3 separate regions of the Homo sapiens genome follow, and regions 2 and 3 are each linked to region 1. The links are contacts of gene promoters, found by promoter capture Hi-C in human tissues and cell types (Jung and others, 2019). All regions are on one chromosome and are shown on one strand. Each heading gives the region's core, a stretch centred on a gene start or on the middle of the fragment in contact. The rest is flanking DNA. Distances are from core to core; before and after follow the strand shown.

Region 1 (2,681 bases), core at 90-2,589:
CAAAAACAAAATTTGGAACTCCATTTCTGTTTTAGATTGTCCACAGCTTCAAGACGAATGTTATCGTCTACAAAATGTTTAAAATCCTGAAATTATAGAAACGTGGCTTTAGTCTCTACCCATTCAAAATAATATGTAATATATGGAAAATGTTTTTGTTGAGGAAGAAAGATAAATGAGACTGTGACCATCTTAGGCCTCACAATCAGACAACATTTAAGTCATATTGGTATTTGGTGCAAAACTGGATTCATAAAAAATTACTTTGGCGACAAAATGACACAGTAGTCTAGATATTGATACTCAAATATTCTGGGTATTAAAACTCAGTCTTCTTCAGGTTATACTCCCAGCTAACTTACTTTGGGACACGTTCTCGGTCTATACTGAGTCTGTGTTCCCAGGCTTAAGTCCTCAAACTTGGCCGAGTAATAAAACTAACCATGATTTCTTTAAGTTTTAGTACCTGTTATTTCACCTTTCGGTCGACAAATCGTTTTTCTCATGTTCCTCTGTCTTACATCAATTTAATTTGTAGACCAGCCAAATGACCTAAAAGGCTAGAAGGAAACAATTTTTCCTCCCCTACAACTATTTCCTCTAGTCCTCCGGCTGAAAGTTGTTCCACGTCCTGGGCAGAGAGAGCCCCACCAGGCAGCACCACCAGCTCCACAGAGTTGGAGCGATTCCCCCAAGAAGCTCCCCTGCGCCCCTCCTCACCCCCAGAGACCAGCAGAAGAAATGGCATCTATCCCTTGGAAGACACTAGGCAGGAGAGAACAACTGCAAGCCCTTCTGCTCACACAGAAAAAAGGATGGCGGAGGTGGCGAATGGGATGTAGCAGAAACCCCGCGGCTGCGGCGGAAGGGACACCGCCCCTCTCCAGCCTAACTCTGAGCCATCTTCCCCCTGTTGTTATAGCACTTAGAACGGACGCCACTGCGCAGGTCACACCGTGCCGCGCAGCCTTCTGGGGGTCGGAGTCCAGAGGGGCTGAGGCGCGAAGGCGGAGACCGACTTCTTAGCGGGCCGCAGTTGGAATTAGATTTCTACTGGGGCGGGGCTCGAGCGAACCACGGCCTAATCCTCATTAGCAGAGAAGGATAATTACCGCAATACTCTGCCCTGCCCTGACAGCAGCTCGTGAGACCCTGAGTCTGCTGAAGGCCGCCTCCAGCCTGGGCTCCGGGCACAGGCCACACCCCTCCCGCCGCGTCCTGGCCTCTCCCATCGATGGCGTGTGGGTGGGGCTTCGTGGGGGCGGAGCTGCGCGGGGCGGGGCGTCGCTGCGCGGGGCGGGGCGTCGCGGGCTCGTCCGTGATGCTCTGGGATCCCGCGCTTCCGAGACTCGCAGTCTACGCGAGCTGCCTGTTTTTTTCCTGCTTGGACGCGCATGAGGGCCCCGTCCATGGACCGCGCGGCCGTGGCGAGGGTGGGCGCGGTAGCGAGCGCCAGCGTGTGCGCCCTGGTGGCGGGGGTGGTGCTGGCTCAGTACATATTCACCTTGAAGAGGAAGACGGGGCGGAAGACCAAGATCATCGAGATGGTGAGTGTGGAGGCTCGGCGCGCCCAGAGCACGCGAGGGGCCGGCTGGGCCGTCCGCTGGCCTCGGCAGCCTGTGCTGGGCCGCTGTTCGGTCGCGACGGGGAGCTGCCGGCGTCGCCTGTCAGGCTGGGATCTCGCTAGCTCGGGACGCGCAGCTTGGGGGACCCGGCCGCCCCGCGTGCGGCCACTCCGCGGGCTTGGTGACCAGGGTTGGGTCCCCGGCTGCGGCCCTTGGCTGCCCGTGGTCTTTGTTAGGTTTCCGTTTGAAGGAACAAGGCAGAAAATAGATGAATCGGACACAGGCTACTTTGTGCTGCAAAACCCGTTTCTCTAGAGATAAGCTGCATGTCCTGGGCAGGTGGCTCCTTCTCTCCCTGCCTTGCTCCCGCCCTCCCCCCGGATCCGCGTCAAACCGTTGCCGCTAATCTAGTTGCAATTCCCGCAGAGGACTAGTTTTATGTTGGGGCTGCCGTGAGTTAGATTATGAAAATGTGCAATATCTAAAATTTTACAAGAATGGCAATCCAGGAGAAATTCAGGATAGTTTATTTTGTATTTGAATGTATTCCTTCTTGTCTCAAAACTCCCACGAAATATCTTTGTTTTCATCTTAACTCCCAAAGCTCTTGTATACATTTTCGAATTTAATTTTTTATTGAAGAGGGTGTCTCAAGAATTCCCTTTGAGATACATTATAAGTAATTGTTTCAAAAATGAGGATATTTAGTTTCGTTTTGTATTTTAATTAGAACCCACTCAGGAAGACAATTCTTGCACAAACTTGCACGCTTATGTATTTCCTGAAATGCATAATCCTGGGTATACGCCTGACCGTGTGCTATACATGTGAACATCTAGGGTCAGATGATTTATGATAGAAAAAAATTTAAAATCTACACTAAATAATATCATTTTAGGGTGTAATACTTGGAATTTCTGAGCACCTGCAATATGTTCCAACTGACGAAAGACACGATTTGTCCTATTGGTTGTACTGACCCCAGGTTGAATACAGATGTATTTGCATAATTAAAATTAGCCAGTGTCCCAGCTATTTGGGAGGCTGAGAGGAAGATCACTGGAGTCTGGGAGTTCAAGGTTATAATCACACCTGTGGATAGCTACTGCACTCCAG
Region 2 (2,681 bases), core at 85-2,584, 370 kb after region 1:
GAGGGGTAGATATAATAGACTATTCTTCTCATGAGTATTTCCTTTAGTATACTTTTTTTGCTTTATTTTGTTATTTATTTAGATTTTTAAGTCAAGAATTTAATTCATTTATTTTCACTCTTTCATTTTTATTGATAAAGCTTTTGAGGCCATGAATTTGCTTCTTATCCTTGCTTTAAATGTCTTCCTTAGTTTGCATATGGAAATGGTATTGCCTGCCATGCTGATGCCATCATTCTATTTTTCACCTTTCTGAATCTGTTTGTATTTGTCTTCCCTGTGTAGCATAAGTTGAGTCTGTCTTTGCTTTGTGAGATAATGTGAGAACCTTTGTTGTAAGTTTTATGTGTATTTGACTATATTTGCTTTGTTTCTGTATATGATTCTCTTTTAAACTTTTTGTATTTGAGAAGGTTACTATTATTTCCTCAATTATTGCATATTTGAAACTTTTTTTATAACATCTATACTTGAATGACAGATTGGCTAGATATAAAATCCTTGGTTCTCCCTTTTTTTTTTGAGATGGAGTCTTGCTCTGTCGCCCAGGCTGGAGTTCAGTGGCACGATCTTGGCTCACTGCAGCCATAAAAAATGATGAGTTCATGTCCTTTGTAGGGACATGGATGAAACTGGAAACCATCATTCTCAGCAAACTATCACAAAGACCAAAAACCAAACACGGCATGTTCTCACTCATAGGTGGGAATTGAACAATGAGAACACATGGACGTGGGAAGGGGAACATCACACACCGGGGACTGTTGTGGAGTGAGGGGAGGGGGGAGGGATAGCATTAGGAGATACACCTAATGCTAAATGACGAGTTAATGGGTGCAGCATGCCAACATGGCACATGTATACATATGTAACAGACCTGCACGTTGTGCACATGTACCCTAAAACTTAAAGTATAATAATAATAAAAAGAAAATAAGTCGTTATTACCTAATAAGTTTTAAGGTATATAGTGTCTGCAATTTATAGTTTCACCCTAAAGAAATATTGGTACAAATATACCAAGGAAACCAATTACATGAATCTTCATGGAAGCATTATTTGTACCTGAGAAAAAAAAGCTGAAAACAACTCAAAGGCCCACCAACAGAATGGATAAAATGAATATTTCCATACAAAGTAATATTGTAAATGAGTGAATGTGATCTACAGTCAAAAGTGTCAGCGGGAACCAATGTCAAATAGACTGTTAAAGATAAAAAACTAAGTCATCAAAGGGGATGAGTGTGCATGTCAATATATATGCCATTTACATATGCCCTAAAAACAAACAAGACAACAATATTATAGAAGATATAGTGTGGCAAAACAGCGAAAGCATAGGCATAGTTAATTCAAAACAGGCTGGTGATCACTTCTAGGAAAGAATGCAATACAGGAGAAGCCCTGGGTGCTTCAATGTTAATATTCAATTTCTTGGTGTTAAGTATACAAGTGTTCATTTTATAATTCTTTAAAATATGTGTGTATATATGTATATAATGCTTATATATTTATACTCTTCAAAGTAGGGCTTTGATTCCTCATCAGTGGTTCTTAAACCTCATGTTCTCTTTAGGTAGCTCTGGGTGCTTAAATAAGCACCAAGAATTGTTCTGATGACACGTCTAGCTATTCAAATACATGTTCAAATTGTAGATTTTATTGTTTCCATTTGTGCAATGAATTTTTTTCCTTCCAACTTCTATTTTAGGTTCAGGGGTACATTTGCAGGTTTGTTATATAGGTAAATCACATGTCATGGGGTTTGGTGTACAGATTATTTTGTCACCCAGGTAATAAGCATAGTACCTGATAGGTATTTTCTCAGTCCTCACTCTCCTCCCACCCTCCACCCTCAAGTAGGCCCTGGTGCCTGTTATTCCCTTCTTTTTGTCCATGTGTGCTCAATGTTTAGCTCGTACTTATAAGGAGCACATACAGTATTTGGTTTTCTGTTCTGTGTTAGTTCACTTAGGAAACTGGCCTCCAGCTCCATCTGTGTTGCTACAGAGGACATGATCTCATTCTTTTTATATGGCTGTATAGTATTCCATGGTATATATGTACCATATTTTCTTTATCCATTCCGCCGTTGATGGGCATTTAGGTTGATTCCATGTCTTTGCTATTGTGAATAATGCTGCAATGAACATACGTGTATATGTGTTTTTATGGTAGAACAATTTATATTCCTTTGGGTATATATCCAGTAATGGGATTGCTGGGTTGAATGATAGCTCCATTTTAAATTCTTTGAAAAATCTCCAAACTGCTTTCCACGGTGGCCAAACTGGTTTACATTTCTACCAGCAGTGTATAAGTGTTCTCTTTTCTCCAAAACTTCACCAGCATCTTTTTTTTTTTAAACTTTTTCATCATAGCCATTCTGACTGGTGTGAGATGGCATCTTACTGTGGTTTTGATTTGCATTTCTCTAATGATTAGTGATGGTGAACATTTTTTCATATGCTTGTTGCCTACATGCATGTCTCCTTTTGATAAGTGTCTGTTCACATTTTTTGCCCATTTTTAATGAGGCCGTTTGTTTTTGCTTGTTGGTTTAAGTTCCTTTTAGGTACTGGATATTAGACCTTTGTCAGATGTGTAGTTTGCAGGTGTTTTCCCCCATTCTGTAGGCTGTGTGTTTACTCTGTTGTTAGTTTCTTTTACTGTGCAGAACC
Region 3 (2,681 bases), core at 128-2,627, 340 kb after region 1:
AAGTGAGTGAAGATATTTACAAAGTTTATGCCCCACCTACTATCCAGAAATTCCATTCATTAATTTGATAAATATTTATTGAAAGCCTGTTGTGACCAGGAGCACTGTTCTAGGTGCTTGGAATACAGAAGAGAAATCTCTGTCCTTGTGAAGTTTATATTAGAGTGGGAAGATAAAGACAAAGAAGAAAGACAACTTGATAGAAAAATGGACAAAATGTTTATGAACTGATATTTCCCAGAAGAACACCACATGGTCAATAAACATATGTAAAGTTGACCACCATCATTTGTTATAAAGAAAATATAAATTCAAACCATAGTGAAATACCAACTCACATCTAATAGATTGATAAAGGAGCTTTCGTCCACCACAGGTGGACATATAAATTGGTACAACTATTTTGGTAAACAGTGTATATTATCTGGTAAAGTTGAAGGTATGGATACCTTATAACTCAGCAATTGTAATTTAACATACATATTCCCAAAAAAGTATTGCACATGTGTACTAGGAAGTACATACAATAATATGGTAGCATTATTTGCAATAGCTTCAAACTGGAAAGAACCCAAATATCCATTAACAGAGAAATGAATACATTTTGGTTTATTAACATGGTGGAACAGTATACAATAATGAGAATGAATGAACTATGCAGCTACACACAACATGGTTGAATCTTACAAATATAATTTTGAATGAGTGAATCCAGGTACAAAATTTAAAAAAATGCTGCATTCTTCCATTTGTATGTTGTTTAAAAACAGATTAAAGTAAATCATAGTTTGATATGTGTATAGAAAGAGTTATGTTGATAATCTCAAAAATCAGGTCAGTAGCTGATTCTTATCTTGGAGGCTGGCAAGTGAAGACAGTATAATCATTTCTCTATTTCAATTAATTATATGGTGACTACATGGACGTTCCCTTTACAGTTCTATAATCTAGAAATTTTATGCACTTTTCTATATGCCGTGTAGAAAAATATAAGCTCATTAAAGTACTTTGAGGGAAAAGGATTGCTTTGAGATTGTTTGGGCAGGTTTAAAAATATTCTATTTTTTTAAAAAAAGTTCTGTTTTTGGGCCAGGCGCAGTGGCTCACGCCTGTAATCCCAGCACTTTGGGAGGCCGAGGCGGGCGGATCATGAGGTCAGGAGATCGAGACCATCCTGGCTAACATGGTGAAACCCCGTCTCTACTAAAAATACAAAAAAAAAAAAAAATTAGCCGGGCATGGTGGCAGGCGCCTGTAATCCCAGCTACTCGGGAGGCTGAGGCAGAAGAGTCGGCTTGAACTGGGGAGGCAGAGGTTGCAGTTAGCTGAGATCGCTCCACTGCACTCCAGCCTGCGTGACAGAGCGAGACTCCTTCTCAAACAAACAAAAAAACAAAAAGACAACAACAAAAGAAATGGTTTTTATCTTTCATCTGATTTTTGTATTCGGCATTATTGCTTGTCTGGGACTCAAGTAAAGAATATTTGCAGTAGTTTAGACAGTTCTAAGTTAATGCTACATGAAACTGTTTGAATCTTGTCTTCATTTCTCAATCCCTTAAAGCCAATTTCAAAAATAAGAATTTGCCTTTATTCAGGTTATTCAAAGGATGTGATCTAGACTCTAAAGTGCTAGCCTGTTTCTTAAAAATTACTTTATGCGGTGGGGCGCGGTGGCTCATGCCTGTAATCCCAGCACTTTGGGAGGCCGAGGCGAGTGGATCACGAGGTCAGGAGTTTGAGACCAGCTTGGCCAACATGGTGAATCCCCATCTCTACTAAAAGTAAAAAAATTAGCCGGGCATAGTGGCACACGCTTGTAATCCCAGCTCCTTGGGAACCTGAGGCAGGAGAATATTTGGAACCCAGGAGGTGGAGGTTGCAGTGAGTCGAGATTTCGCCACTGCACTCCAGCCTGTGCGACAGAGCAAGACCCCATCTCAAAAAAAATTTATGTTCACACCTTATGTATTTTATTTAGAAAGTATTTTAGCTATGATAAATTATAAAATTGAGATTAATTTATATGTACACTTTTTACGATTGTACATTCAGGATTTAAGCATCAACCACATGGGTATGGTTTAGTACTATTATGTTTTAAATATGATTTAAACTATGGTTTAAAATTCTGAGGTAATTTTGTGAAAAACTCACTGTATTTTACATGAATTTTGATTGTATACTCTGTTATTATTATTATTTTTTACAGTGGGACTCAACTAGGAGGTCTTATTACAGTACTGTGCTGCTTTTTCAACCATGGAGAGGTTTGTTTTCTAGAAAGCAATTTTTAAGAAATAGAAGGGGTTATAGAGGAACAAAGAAATATACTCATCGAAACAATATATAATTGTATACTACTTATGACTTCACAATATTTTAAAGACCCTTGTGTTATAAGTTGATATTTTAATCATGCTGATCAAAATGTTTAAATAGCTAGAATTTCAAACATGAAATCTCTTGCCTTATTTTTAGTAAATATATACATATACATATATTCTGTAGAGAAAAGGAAATACTGTACTTGTTGAGTTGAATCACGTCATGCACATTATCTGATTTATTCCCACTAAACTTTTTTTGTGGGTGGTGGTAGCCTCACCATACAAGTTATGAAATTTAAATTTAGAGAAAATTAAGTTACTTATCCACATTCCACATTTACTACATGATGA

The links. Contacts are between HindIII fragments. The study calls those that stand out against the background at their distance.
Region 2: a fragment that was not itself captured here is called in contact with the fragment with the promoter of NT5C3A in region 1 in 1 of the 25 tissues and cell types used here (lymphoblastoid cells).
Region 3: a contact is called between a fragment that was not itself captured here and the fragment with the promoter of NT5C3A in region 1, in 1 of the 25 tissues and cell types used here (H1 embryonic stem cells).

What each region holds. Positions count from the first base shown.
Region 1 is chr7:33,061,434-33,064,114 of GRCh38, reverse strand. It overlaps NT5C3A (5'-nucleotidase, cytosolic IIIA), which reads left to right and starts at 1,339. Exons shown (of 9, transcript NM_001002010.5): 1 at 1,339-1,547. The coding sequence starts at 1,410. LOC124901610 (a long non-coding RNA gene) reads right to left here and starts at 930. Exons shown (of 4, transcript XR_007060279.1): 1 at 467-930; 2 at 1-86. RefSeq lists an enhancer at 825-984 and silencers at 1,225-1,344, 1,645-1,704. The HindIII fragment of the contact is 10,077 bases long and covers 1-2,681 here.
Region 2 is chr7:32,694,214-32,696,894 of GRCh38, reverse strand. It overlaps the pseudogene DPY19L1P1. Among named protein-coding and RNA genes, the nearest start is that of MIR550A2, 37 kb to the left of the region's middle. The HindIII fragment of the contact is 7,417 bases long and covers 1-2,681 here.
Region 3 is chr7:32,718,725-32,721,405 of GRCh38, reverse strand. It overlaps the pseudogene DPY19L1P1. Among named protein-coding and RNA genes, the nearest start is that of MIR550A2, 13 kb to the left of the region's middle. The HindIII fragment of the contact is 4,185 bases long and covers 1-2,681 here.